3 separate regions of the Homo sapiens genome follow, and all the other regions are linked to region 1. The links are contacts of gene promoters, found by promoter capture Hi-C in human tissues and cell types (Jung and others, 2019). All regions are on one chromosome and are shown on one strand. The core of a region is centred on a gene start or on the middle of the fragment in contact, and the rest is flanking DNA. Distances in the headings are between cores, read along the strand shown.

What was found. Contacts are between HindIII fragments. The study calls those that stand out against the background at their distance.
Region 2: a fragment that was not itself captured here is called in contact with the fragment with the promoter of ZNF600 in region 1 in 2 of the 25 tissues and cell types used here (H1 embryonic stem cells and pancreas).
Region 3: a contact is called between a fragment that was not itself captured here and the fragment with the promoter of ZNF600 in region 1, in 2 of the 25 tissues and cell types used here (adrenal gland and mesenchymal stem cells).

The regions. Positions count from the first base shown.
Region 1 is chr19:52,784,930-52,789,315 of GRCh38, reverse strand. ZNF600 (zinc finger protein 600) reads left to right here and starts at 2,525. Exons shown (of 6, transcript NM_001321866.4): 1 at 2,525-2,721. RefSeq lists a silencer at 2,367-2,516 and enhancers at 1,849-2,706, 2,707-3,565. The HindIII fragment of the contact is 28,786 bases long and covers 1-4,386 here.
Region 2 is chr19:52,671,250-52,675,635 of GRCh38, reverse strand. All of the region lies in intron 1 of LOC122539214 (Zinc finger protein LOC122539214), which reads left to right. It also overlaps a transcript of ZNF83 not described here. Among named protein-coding and RNA genes, the nearest start is that of ZNF83, 35 kb to the right of the region's middle. RefSeq lists an enhancer at 1,127-1,626. The HindIII fragment of the contact is 8,097 bases long and covers 1-4,386 here.
Region 3 is chr19:52,701,484-52,705,869 of GRCh38, reverse strand. It overlaps ZNF611 (zinc finger protein 611), which reads left to right. Exons shown (of 6, transcript NM_001161499.2): 6 at 1-3,057. The coding sequence ends at 933. Among named protein-coding and RNA genes, the nearest start is that of ZNF611, 31 kb to the left of the region's middle. The HindIII fragment of the contact is 3,945 bases long and covers 152-4,096 here.

The sequences.
Region 1 (4,386 bases), core at 1,276-3,775:
TCCTGCCTCTGTCCTCCTCCCTACCTCTACTGTAACCATGCAGGCTTCTTTTCTTTTTCTGGGACTCAGGTTGCTCCTTTCTCAGGGCCTTCACCTGGGCTGTCCCTCTGCCTAGGACTCTCTGGCCACTCAGCTGCAAGTGACAAGCAGCCTTTCTTCCCTAAGTCTTTGTTCTGACATCACTTTTTCTATGAAAACTTTTGTGTTCTCCCACAGTCCCCCATTTGACATGACAGCCCCACCTTCACCCCCATCTCTGGCCCATGTTGCCTGTTCTGTGTGATCCTTTTTGCTCCTTCGCTGTTCACTGGATCCTGGTGGGAACAAGTCCCCAAGCGGAGAGCAGAGCCAGAAGGTGGGGCTCTGCGGGGCTGGTGCCCTGAGTGGAGCTCAAACTTGGCTTCACATTAGGGTTTTCAGGCATTTTGCAAATATAGCTTCTATGCTGTTTTATCAGAGATTGCTATTATCACAGTATGGGACCCACCCTCAATAATACCTACAATGGTGCAGGTGATTCTCATCTGTCTCCAGCATTGAACATCAAGGCAGTTTCCTCCATGTTGAGAGCTGAGATCAGCCTGTGATCCACAGGGAGGTGAGGGGGCTGTGCTCTGCATGGGGTTTGGTTAGGGCCAGATCTGTGCCCTGAAGATCTGTGTCCTGCTGCAGCGTGTGTGTGGACTTTTGCAGGAGGGAGCAAGACCTCAAAACAGGTCAAAATTGCCCTTGTAGGTCTTCCTGTGGCACCTTCTTATCTCCACATAATCTCTGGTGCAGTGGGCAGCAGAGAACCATCTTTATCCCTGGTGAGGTCTCCCCTGTGTGTGTGTTTTGTCACAGGAAAGGAGGGAGTGATTTCTAAAAATTAAATCTCGTATTTTTTTTTACATACAGGATTGATTTTCCAAAGACTCATGTTACGTGAGGAAGACACCAAGAGGAGCAAAGAAAAGGAGCCAGGGATGGCTCTTCCTCAGGTGGAGTAATATTCCTCGGTGGATTCTTCTGTCTCTTTCCTTTCTGAAATGCCAGGTATTGTAGTAGCCAGTCTTCTGTGAGTCTGAAGCATCCTGCCTCACACGTTTGCTCACACTAACCCATGCCTTTTCTCAGTCCTTGTCATCTTCACTTAAATTCCATCTTCTATAACCTAGTGACATGAGCTTGGGAAGAGGCTGCACTGGGCATGGTCCTGGGAAGGGCTCACACCAGAGATGGATGGAGATGGGGTGTGGACCCCAAGGTGTCAGTGATATTGGGCAGCAGGGATTGTTCAGGGGCCACATCTGGATGCACATTTAGCTCTTTGTGGATCAGATCAGAGAATCTATGTATGAAAGTCATACATTAATGTATGCACTGGTATCTGTGTACTGGTATCTGGTAAATTCTGGAAAAGGAGACAAACTAGGGGAGATATTTCTTTTTCTTTTTCTTTTTCTTTTTTTTTTTTGAGACGTAGCCTCGCTCTGTCGCCCAGGCTGGAGTGCAGTGGCACGATCTTGGCTCACTGCACGCTCCGCCTCCCGGGTTCACTCCATTCTCCTGTCTCAGCCTCCCTAGTAGCTGGGATTACAGGCACCCACCACCACGCTTGGCTAATTTTTTTGTATTTTTTAGTAGAGATGGGGTTTCACTGTGTTAGCCAGGATGGTCTCGATCTCCTGACCTCATGATCTGCCCGCCTCAGCCTCCCAAAGTGCTGAGATTACAGGTGTGAGCCAGCGCGCCCGGTCTTGTTTTTGTTTGGGTTAGGCGGGCTCCTGTAGTTCCAGTTACTCGAAAGGCTGAGGCAGGAGAAGGGCGTGAACCCGGGAGGCGGAGCTTGCAGTGAGCCAAAATCGTGCCACTGCACTCCAGCCTGGGCGACACAGCGAGACTCCGTCTCAAAAAAAAAAAAAAAAAAAAAAAGTAAAAGAGCGAGAGAGAGATCAGGAAGAGGACCCTGCAGTTAGGGGGTGTTACTTTGTCGCCCAGGATGGCCTGGACCCCCAGGTTCAGGGATTCTCCCGCCGCTGCTTCCTGAGTAGCTGGGACCTCAGGCTTCCGCCTCGTGCCCGCATCCCTGCTGTGTTTAGGCAGCAGGTGGTGACCTCACTCCTCCCTGGCCTGAGCTCTCCGTCCCGCATCCCAGGCGGAGGCCCTAGGGAACACTTTGAAGCTGAGCACGGGGTGGACCCTCCCTCCTGAGTGAATGGAGAATAGAAAGGGAGAGGATTTCTGTTCTGTTCTGTGGGCCATCAGCATGAAATCGTATGTTCCGCCCTGGCAGGGCTTTGCATTTCACATTCTAGTTTGCATTCCCGTTCCAGATAATTCCAGGGCTTTTGAATCATGCCTCAGCCTTCCTGGCCGCTGTCGCCTCCAAAAACTCGAAAAACAGAGGCGCTGAGTGCGAGGCTGAGAAGCACAGGTCCCGCCCCGGGCCCTCCCTCTGCCGGTTCTAAAGGGCAAGGTCTCTCCGCCTGGGGCCCCGCCTCTACCCCGCCCAGGTCCAGCCAACCTGCCCCGGCCTGGCTTCAGTCCTGGGCGCGCACAAACCCGGAAGCGGATCGCGTGGAGTGAAGGTCCTACCACGGCGCGTGAGTTTTGCTCTGCCTTGGATTAAGTCTGCACTTCCCAGGTCCCCGGCGCTTCTGCCCCTGGGACGTGGGATCCCCACGGACCTGGAAATTCTCGCCTGTCTTCCCTTCACCCAGAGCAAATTGAGACGTCCCGGTAAGAGTCTGGAAGTTGCTTGCTTTTGGGTTTGAAGTCGCTCGGAGGCTGGTCCCGTCCCCGGTCTTTCTGCTATAGGGCAATGTATACACTTCCTATCGCGTATTTTTCCTGCTCAAAACATTTTTCTGACTATTCCCGCCCCGTGCTTTTTAAAGTCCTCACCCGCGAGGTGGATTCCAGCCCTGGGCGCCTCCCAGCCTCGCCCCAGTTGGCACCTGGAGCGCGGCGCCCCGGCCCCAGCCCCGGGGAGGCTGCGTCCTCTGCCTGGTCCTGGGATCCTGCAGGTCCCACCTTTGTCTTAGGGTGCCGTCGCCCACCACGTCCCTCCTGGTGCCGGGCCCTGCTGCTCCCCAAGTCTTCGCTTCCCCTGAGCCAGGGTTGGGGTGGGTCGCAGGGGCTTGTCCTATGATACCAGGTGTTCTTTCCTGTCCAGCTCCACCCCCTGGAAAATGCGCTTCTACGGGATGCAGGCGTCTTACTCCAAACCCGCCTGTGATTACTCCAAACCCGCCTGGGCCAAAGGGATCAGGAGATAGAGAGAGGGACTGAGAGAGCAGTAGAAAACCAGAGACAGAGAAAAGAAGAATGAGAAAGGCCCATAACAGATGGCAAAGTAGAGGATGGGTTAGGAATTTGCCAAGAGACAGCAAAAGTGAAAGAAAAAAAACTAAGAAAGCAGGAGGAGAAAAGCAACTGGAGAAATGTAGAGAAAAGCTAGATGTACAGAAAGATGAAGGACAGCAAGGTAGGGAGAGGGGCAGCAAAGAGGGAGGCTCACCAGAGTGAGGGAGAGGAGGAGGGATTTGGAGCCAGGGCAGACAGAGCAGAGTGGTGCTGGTGGCAAGAACAGATGGAGAACCACAGCAGGGAGGACACCTGGGGATCTGAGGTGCTGGAGAGTGGGGACAGAGGGGTATAACAGGGAAGAGAGAATTTAATAGGGAGAGCAGAGGAGACGGAGAGATAAGAGAAGAGGCTGTAATATATAGACATTGAGGAAGATTGAAAGATTGGGGAGAAAGAACAACAAGAGGTTAAATAAGGACCGGGCGCTGTGGGTCATGCCTGTAATCCCAGCATTTTGGGAGGCTGAGGCGGGTGGATCACCTGAGGTCCGGAGTTCGAGACCAGCCTGATCAACAGGGAGAAACCCCGTCTCTATTAAAAATATAAAATTAGCTGGGAGCGGTTGCACATGCCTGTAATCCCAGCTACTAGGGAGGCTGAGGCAGGAGAAACCTTTGAACCTGGGAGGCAGAGGTTGCGGTGAGAGCCAAGATCGCACCGGTGCACTCCAGCCTGCACAACAAGAGTGAAACTCCATCTCAAAAAGGAAAAAAAAAAAAGAGGTTAAATAAGCTGTGAGAATGGAGCAGAAGAGGTGGAAGAGAAGTAATAGAGGGAAGAAGGGGATAAACAGCAGGAGAGGAGAGGGGTACAAAATGAGGAGCACAATCCCAGGGAAAAAGAAAAGAAAACAAGAGCTAGAGAGAGAAGGGGAGAATGAGAGATATGCACAGAATTAGGGAGGGAAGCACAGTAATGAAGAAAGAGGGGCTGGGCGCAGTGGCTCATGCCTGTAATCTCAGCACTTTAGGAGACTGAGGCAAAGGGATTGCTTGAGTCTAGGAGTTCAAGACCAGCCTGGGCAAAATAGTGAGG
Region 2 (4,386 bases), core at 1,213-3,712, 110 kb after region 1:
TTTGTAATGCTGAACACCCCAATTTCCCCGTGAGCCCATCCCCTCCAACACCACTCTCACTGAGTAAGTCAAGACCTTGTTCATCCACTGGACAAAATTATAGGAGGCCGCTTAAATCAGTGTGTGCAGGGTATGATGACTCAGCACATGATCCATGAGGGATGGCTTCAGAACCACTGTCAGCAGCGCAGCTCAGCGCTTGTGTCCCAGCTCAGCCCTTGTATCCCCCTTGATATATTTCTTTCTGTTCTTGTATTTTCTGTGACTGGTCATTTCCTGTACTGCCTGGGCATACTATTGTGCTTAAGTACATGTCGTGGGATCCTTCAGGCCTAGGATCAAGTCTTGTCCCTCACTTACCGTACATGCAAATTGGGGTGAAGTACATGAACACTGTGGGCCTGGTGTCCTTATTTGAGAAGTAATGTTAATTTGCCCCCAGGTTTTTAAAACAAGTTAATGCTATTAGATGGCTTCAAGTAACGCAAGCTTTATAGTACAGATTCTGAACTTCCTTTGTTTAATAAGATTTGTCAGCCTTCAGTGACATTGGTGATTAGATGCCCCTTTTCCTGTGTCACTCATTTCACTGTCTTGTCAGAAATAGCTTAGAGTAGCTGGCCGTGGTGGCTCATGCCTGTAATCCCAGCACTTTGGGAGCCCAAGGTGGGTAGATCACTTGATGTCAGAAGTTTTAGACCAGCCTGGCCAACAGAGGTTAGCCACTTTTCCCAGCCGGTTTTTTGTTTCTTTGACAAAAACTGATAGGGATTTGTATGGGCGTTGTGTTAAATCTAAATCATCTTGGGTTGTATAATCATTTAACGAGATTAAGTTTTCCAATCTATCAATATTGGTTGTATCTCTATGTTTTTAATCATTTTGATCAATGTTCATAGATTTCAAGGTAGAAACTTCTCGCATTTTTACGTTTATTCCTAAGTATATCTTAGTTTAAATTCTCTAGAAAATGGAAGTGTTTTCTTAATTTCCTTTTAAAATTTTTTACTGTTATTGCATGGAAATTCAACTAATTTTGGTGCTAATATTGTACTCTGCAAATCCACTGAATGTTTATTAGTTCCACTTGTATTTTGGTTGAGTCTTTGTGACTTTCTACACAGAGGATCGTGTCATCTACAAACAAATAAAATTTTATTTATTTCTTTCTGATTTGGATGAGTTTGATTTCTTTTGCTATTTCATTGCTCTGGCTAGGACAGTCAGTATTGATTGAATAGAAAGGGTGAGAACGTTCTAGCATCATGTGAGATCCTACAGGAAAAGCATTCAATTTTTCCTGATTGGTTATTTCAGCTGTGGTCATTTCATGGATGGTCTTTTATATTGTTGAGGTAAATTTCCTTCTTTATTTTGTTTAGGGTTTCTATGATGACAGGATGGTCCTAAGTCTTCACACATCAGGGCCACAGCCCCAACCTCACAGGAAACAGGTGATCTTTTGAAAGGCTTAAGGCCCAAGAGTTCATTTGAGGGCTTTTTAACCTGTGGATTTGGTCTAGAGCCATATCAGAGGGTTGTGTCTGTGTGAGTGTGCAAATGTGTGGTGCTTTCCAAGTTCAGTTGACATTGGTAATTTTTTTTTTTTTTTTTTTTTTTGAGATGGAGTCTCACTCTGTTACCCAGGCTGCAGGGCAGTGGCATGATCTCGACTCACTGCGGCCTCCACCTCTCAGCTTCAACCAATTCTCCTGCCTCAGCCTCCCTAGTAGCTGGGATTACAGGCACACACCACCAGGCCCGGTTAATTTTTTGTATTTTTAGTAGAGATAGGGTTGCACCATGTTGACCAGGCTGGTCTCGAACTTTTGACCTGAGGTGATTGGCCCACCTCAGCCTCCCAAAGAGCCACTGCTCCTGGCCTAATAATTTTTTATTTATTTATTTTTTTGAGTTGGAGTCTCACTCTGTCACCCAGGCTAGAGTGCAGTTGCATGATCTCTGTCTCCAGAAAAAACAAAAAACAAAAAGATAATATTTGCATCGTTATTGGCTCATTTTTGATTACTTGGGAAAACAGCTTTCAAAAGCTTAAGGTTTTTAAATACATGTGACTTTCTATATTTTTTTTCTGATGTTCTGTTTATAGCATTTTGTGTGTGTGTGTGTGTGTGATGGAGTTACACTCTTCTTGTGTACCCTGGAGTGTAGTGGTGCGATCTCAGCTCACTGCAACCTCTGCCTTCTTGGCTCAAATGATTCTCCTGCCACAGCCTCCTGAATATCTGAGATTACAGGCATGCGCCATCACCCTCGGCTAATTTTGTATTTTTTTAGAGACAGGGTTATACCATGTTGGTCAGGCTGGTCTCGAACTCTTGACCTCAGGGGATCCACCCATCTTGGCTCCCAAAGTGCTGGGATTCAAGCATGAGCCACTGTGCCCAGCCATTTGTTTAGTTTTTTGAGATGGAGTCCAGCTCTTTCGCACAGTCTGGAATGCAGTGGTGCAATCTCCACTCACTGCAACCTCTGCTCCCTGGGTTTAAGTGATTCTCATGCCTCAGTCTCCTGAGTAGCTGGGATTACAGGCTCACATCCAGTTTTTTTTGTATTTTTGGTAGAGACAGGGCTTATAGGTTTGAGCCACCACACCTGGCCATCCCCATTTTTATATGTACAATTTAATCATTGACTACAGTCATTCTGTTGTGTTATGAAATAATAGGTCTTATTCTATTTTTTGTACCCATTATCATGTTCTATTTATTAATTATTTCTGATTAAAATAAACTTTTTTGCCATGCACGGTGGCTCATGTCTGTAATCCCAGCACTTTGGAAGGTCAGGATTTGGAGACCAGCCTGGCCAACACGGTGAAACCCCGTCTCTACTAAAAATACAAAAATTAACCCAGCATGATGGCGAGCACCAATAATCCCAGCTACCTGGGAGGCTGAGGCAAGAGAATCATTTGAACCCAGGAGGCAGATGTTGCAGTGAGCCGAGACCGTGCCATTGCACCCCAGCCTAGGCAACAAGAACCAAACTCAATCTCAAAAATAAATAAGTAACTTAATTAATTTTTAAAACATAAAGATGAGGTGCTATGTTGCCTAGGCTGGACTCCAACTGTTGGGCACTAGCCATCCTCCTGCCTCAGCCTCCCATCATGCTCGGATTACAGGCACAAGCCACCATGCCTGACGACATTATGCTTTTTTAAACTTGCTAATATTCTAGATATGCTAATTTCCCTTCTAAATGTAATCATATTTTAGCTAATTACTAGTGTTTGATAGATGAATTCTTCCATAGCTAGGGATGTGGGAGAAAAACATAGTTCATAGTACATGTTAACTTACAGATATAGTCATAAAAGTATTACATGCAGAAATGAGGTGATTTATAATTTCATTTTATTTTTATTTTTATTTTTTTGAGACAGAATCTCACTCTTTTGCTCAGGCTGGAGAGCTGTGGTGAGATCTTTGCTCACTGCAACCTCTGCCTCCTGGATTCAAGAGATTCTCCTGCCTCAATCTCCTGAGTAGCTGAGATTACAGTTTTGTGCCACCTTACCCAGCTAATTGTTGTATTTTTAGTACAGATGGGGTTTCACCATGTTAGCCAGGCTAGTCTCAATCTCCTGACCTCTGGGTCATCCACCTGCCTCGACCTCCCAAAGTGCTGGGATTACAGGTGTGAGTCAATGTGCCCAGCCAATTTTATAACTTAGTTATATTTTTTCAGGGCCCAAGTAAAACGGAATAACTTGACTGCAATGTATTCTTAGTAATATTTCATGATCTTTCTCTATATGAAAATAAATCCTAACATTTAAAGACTGCATATTTTATAGCCTTTGTTATTCCCACCTGATAGAACACTCAGGAGAGAATAACAAAGAAAACACCTAAAATAGATTGCAATTGGATGGGTGTGGTGGCTTGCCTGTAACCCCAACACTTTGGGAAGCAAAGGTGGGTTGATCGCTTGAGTCCAGGAGTTGAAGGCTAGCCTGAGCATCATAGTGGGACCACCCCTCTACAAAGTACTAACAAATTAGCCAGGCTTGGTGGTGAGGGCCTGCAGCTCCAGCTAGTTGGGAGGTGTGGCGGGAGGATTGCTTGAGCACCAGAGGTTGAGGGTGCAAGGAGCAGTGTTCCTGCCACTGCATTCCAGCCGGGGTGACAGAACTAGGTCCTGTCTGAAGGAAAAAAAAAAAGTACAACTTGAAGATAAAAGGTACATTTTCTAATTTTTTCAGAAGGCACATAGAGTGAATTTAATATTACAATACATTTATAAATTATTGATGTTAGCATATTATGTTGTCAACAACATTTATCGTAAAAGTAGTTATATTGCAGGGAAGAACTGTAAAAAAAAGTATTTGAGAATGAGGTGTAAGCTCTGATTTTT
Region 3 (4,386 bases), core at 875-3,374, 83 kb after region 1:
AAACCATACAGATGTAAGGTTTGTGACACAGCTTTCACGTGGCATTCACAGCTGGCTCGACATAGAAGAATTCATACTGCAAAGAAAACTTATAAATGTAATGAGTGTGGCAAGACCTTCAGTCACAAGTCATCCCTTGTATGCCATCATAGACTTCATGGTGGAGAGAAATCTTACAAATGTAAGGTTTGTGACAAGGCTTTTGTGTGGAGTTCACAACTGGCAAAACATACTAGAATTGACTGTGGAGAAAAACCTTACAAGTGTAATGAATGTGGGAAGACCTTTGGTCAAAATTCAGATCTTTTAATTCATAAGTCAATTCATACTGGGGAGCAACCTTACAAATGTGATGAATGTGAAAAGGTTTTCAGTCGTAAATCAAGCCTTGAGACACATAAGATAGGTCATACTGGAGAGAAACCATACAAATGTAAGGTTTGTGACAAGGCTTTTGCGTGTCATTCCTATCTGGCAAAACATACTAGAATTCATAGTGGAGAGAAACCTTACAAGTGTAATGAGTGCAGCAAGACCTTCAGTCACAGGTCATACCTTGTATGCCATCATAGAGTTCATAGTGGTGAGAAACCTTACAAGTGTAATGAGTGCAGCAAGACCTTCAGTCGCAGGTCATCCCTTCATTGCCATCGTAGACTTCATAGTGGTGAGAAACCTTACAAGTGTAATGAGTGTGGCAATACCTTCCGTCACTGCTCATCCCTTATATACCATCGTAGACTTCATACTGGAGAGAAATCTTACAAATGTACAATTTGTGACAAGGCTTTCGTGCGTAATTCACTCCTGTCAAGACATACCAGAATTCACACTGCAGAGAAACCTTACAAGTGTAATGAATGTGGGAAGGCTTTTAATCAACAATCACACCTTTCACGTCATCATAGAATTCATACTGGAGAGAAACCTTAGAAATGTGAAGCATGTGACAAAGTTTCCATTTGGAAATCACACCTTAAAGACATAGGAGAATTTATACTGGAGAGAAAGCTTACAAATGTAAGGTTTCTGACAAGACTTGGGAGTGATTCACACCTGGAACAACATACTGGACTTCACACTGGAGAGAAACCTTACAAGTGTAATGAGTGTGGCAAAGCCTTTGGCAAGCAGTCAACACTTATTCACCATCAGGCAATTCATGGTGTAGGGAAACTTGACTAATGTAATGATTGTCACAAAGTCTTCAGTAATGCTACAACGATTACAAATCATTGGAGAATCCATAATGAAGAGAGATCTTACAAGTGTAATAAATGTGGCAAATTTTTCAGAGATCGTTCACATATTGCAGGTCATCGGTGAACTCATACTGGAGAGAAACCTTACAAATGTCATGACTGTGCCAAGGTCTTCAGTCAAGCTTCATCCTATGCAAAACATAGGAGAATTTATACAGGAGAGAAACCTCACAAGTGTGATGATTGTGGCAAAGCCTTTGCTTCACGTTCACACGTCATTAGACATCAGAGAATCTATACTGGACAGAAATCTTACAAATGTCATCAGTGTGGCAAGGTCTTCAGTCCAAGATCACTCCATGCAGAACATCAGAAAATTCATTTTTGAGATAACCGTTCCCAATGAAATGAGTATAGCAAACCATCAAGCATTAATTGACATTGGAGTCAATTCAGCATTGACTTGAGTTTGTGTTGACTTAACATTGAGTTCAAGCCTTTATTGACATTCAAGTGTTTATGTTAAGAGGATGGGGCCAGGTGTGGTGGCTCCGACCTGTAATCCCAGCACGTCGGGAGGCCAAGGCACATAGGTCACTTGAGGTCAGGAGTTTGAAACCAGCATGGCCAACAGATGTGAGCCACTTTTCTCAGCCTGTTTTTTGTTTCTTATTTTCTATTATTTTTTTGAGCCAGTACTTTTTAAAGAGATAGTACTTTTTTCAGTTAGTACTTTTTGAAAGGGATATATCATAGTAATTTTTAAAAGGGATATGAGGCCAGGCACGGAGGCTCATGCCTATAATCCCAGCACTTTGGGAGGCCGAGGCAGGCAGATCACGGGGTCAGGAGATCGAGACTTTCCTGGCTAACAGGGTGAATCCCTGTCTCTACTAAAAATACAAAAAATTAGCTGGGCATGGTGGCTGGCGCCTGTAGTCCCAGCTACTCCAGATGCTGAGGCAGGAGAATGGCATGAACCTGTGAGGCGGAGCTTGCAGGGAGTCGAGATCGCACCACTGGGCTCCAGCCTGGGCGACAGAGTGAGAGTCTATCTCAAAAAAAAAAAAAAAAAAAAGGATATCAAAGCCTCGGTACGTGGTGGCTCATCCCTGCAATCAGAGTACTTTGGTCGACCCATGTGAACTGGTCACCTAAGGTCACAATTTCAAAAGCACCCTAACATGGTGAAACCCCATCTCTACTAAAAATACAAAAGTTAGCCGGGGGTGTTGGTGTGCACCTTTAGTTCCAGCTACTTGGGAGGCTGGGGCATGAGAATTGCTTAAACCTAGGAGGTAGAAGTTGCAGTGAACCAAAATTGTGCCACTATACTGCAGCCTGGGTGGCAGAGTGAGTCTCCATCTCAAACAAACAAAAAATAACAAAAAAAGACCTCAAAAATGCTTTTCTTCTCGTATAATGGACTTCCTTCTTTTTCTTTCTGGTTCCTCTTCATTTCTCTCTTTATTTTTTATTTATTTATTTATTTATTTTGCAGTTTGAGTTTGAGATAAATCTAAGTTATAAAAGTTGTATTTCTTAATACATAATGACTTCTGAAAGATGCCTTTGCAGCATCCTATAATCAGCTCACATCATTCGTTTCTGTACTTGTATATTTTCCAGTTATTTTCCGGTTGACCCCAGAATTCGTTAGATTTTTTTAAAAAACAATTTCAAAATAGTTGCTGTTTTAAATTAGTTGCATCCAGTTCATATCAATGTCTGCATGCTTTCTAGTCTTTGTTATTTATTGAAAACCTTTGGTACCTAAACTTAAGTTTGATTGTTTCAGTGTGTACTTGGTAAATATGTCAGTGGCCTTTTAACTAAACATCAAAATGTACTTTAACCAGTTAGTCTGTTTTTCAGTTTTCTTTCCTTATGTCCTTTGTTAAAATCTTGATCTGGGAGCTATTTATTGCGTGTTTCCCTCAAGGCCCTCTGGTCCATTCTGGAAAAATGTTGAAACATGGGCTGGATTGGCATAGAACGCTCCTCCAAAAGCACCCGTGTATTCTTTTCTTTTCTTTTTTGAAATGGAATCTTGCTCTGTCGCCTTGGATGGAGGGCAGTGGTGCAATCTCAGCTCACTGCAACCTCTGCCTCCTGGGATCAAGTGATGCTCCTGCCTCAGTCTCCTGAGTAGCTGGAATTACAGGCACCCACCAGCATGCCTGGCTAATTTTTGTATTTTTAGTAGAGACGGGGTTTCATCACGTTTGTCAGGCTGGTCTCAAATCCTGACCTTGTGATCCACCCGACTTGGCCTCCCAATGTGATGAGATTACAGGTGTGAGCCACTGCTCCCAGCCTCGGTTTTTTTTTTGTTTTTCTTTTTGTTTTTTTGGGGGTTTTTTTTTGAGATGGAGTTTTGCTCTTGTTGCCCAGGCTGGACTGCAATGGTGCGATCTGGTGTCACTACAACGTCTGCCTCCTGGGTTCAAGTGATTCTCCTGCCTCAGCCTACCAAGTAGTTGGGATTACAGGTGCCCTCCACCACTCCTGGCTAGGTTTTTGCATTGTCAGTAGAGACAGGCTCTCACTGTGTTGGCCAGGCTGGTCTCAAACTACTGACTTCTGGTGATCTGCCCACCTCGACCTCCCAAAGTGCTGGGATTACAGGCGTGAGCCACCGTGCCTGACCACTCATGTATTCTTGATTGAAACAATTTGCTTATGTCTTAGTTGTACACCTGACCTTCTTTCCCTGTTTCCAAGGTCAATAGCTATGTGTTCACAACTCTGCATTTTATAAATGTTACTGTGATTTTCTTGTAAGGAAGAACAAACTGTCAGGAGTCAATGGCCTCAGAACCTTGCAAAAGAAGTTTGTTTCTTTTTTTTCTTTTCTTTTTTTTTTTTGGAGACGGAGTTTCGCTCTTGTCCCCCAGGCTTGAGTGCAGTGGCACGATCTCGGCTCACTGCAACCTCCGTCTCCCGGGTTCAAGTGATTCTCCTTCCTTAGCCTCCCAAGTACCTGGGATTAGAGGCATGCACTACCACTCCTAGCTAATTTTGTATTTTTATAGAGACGGGGTTTCTCCGTGTTGGTCAGGCTGGCCTCAAACTCCTGACCTCAGGTGATCCACCCGCCTCAGCCTCCCAAAGTGCTGGGATTACAGGCTTGAGCCACCGTGCCCGGCAAAAGAAATTTCTTTAGCCCAGGTTTGTGAAAGAG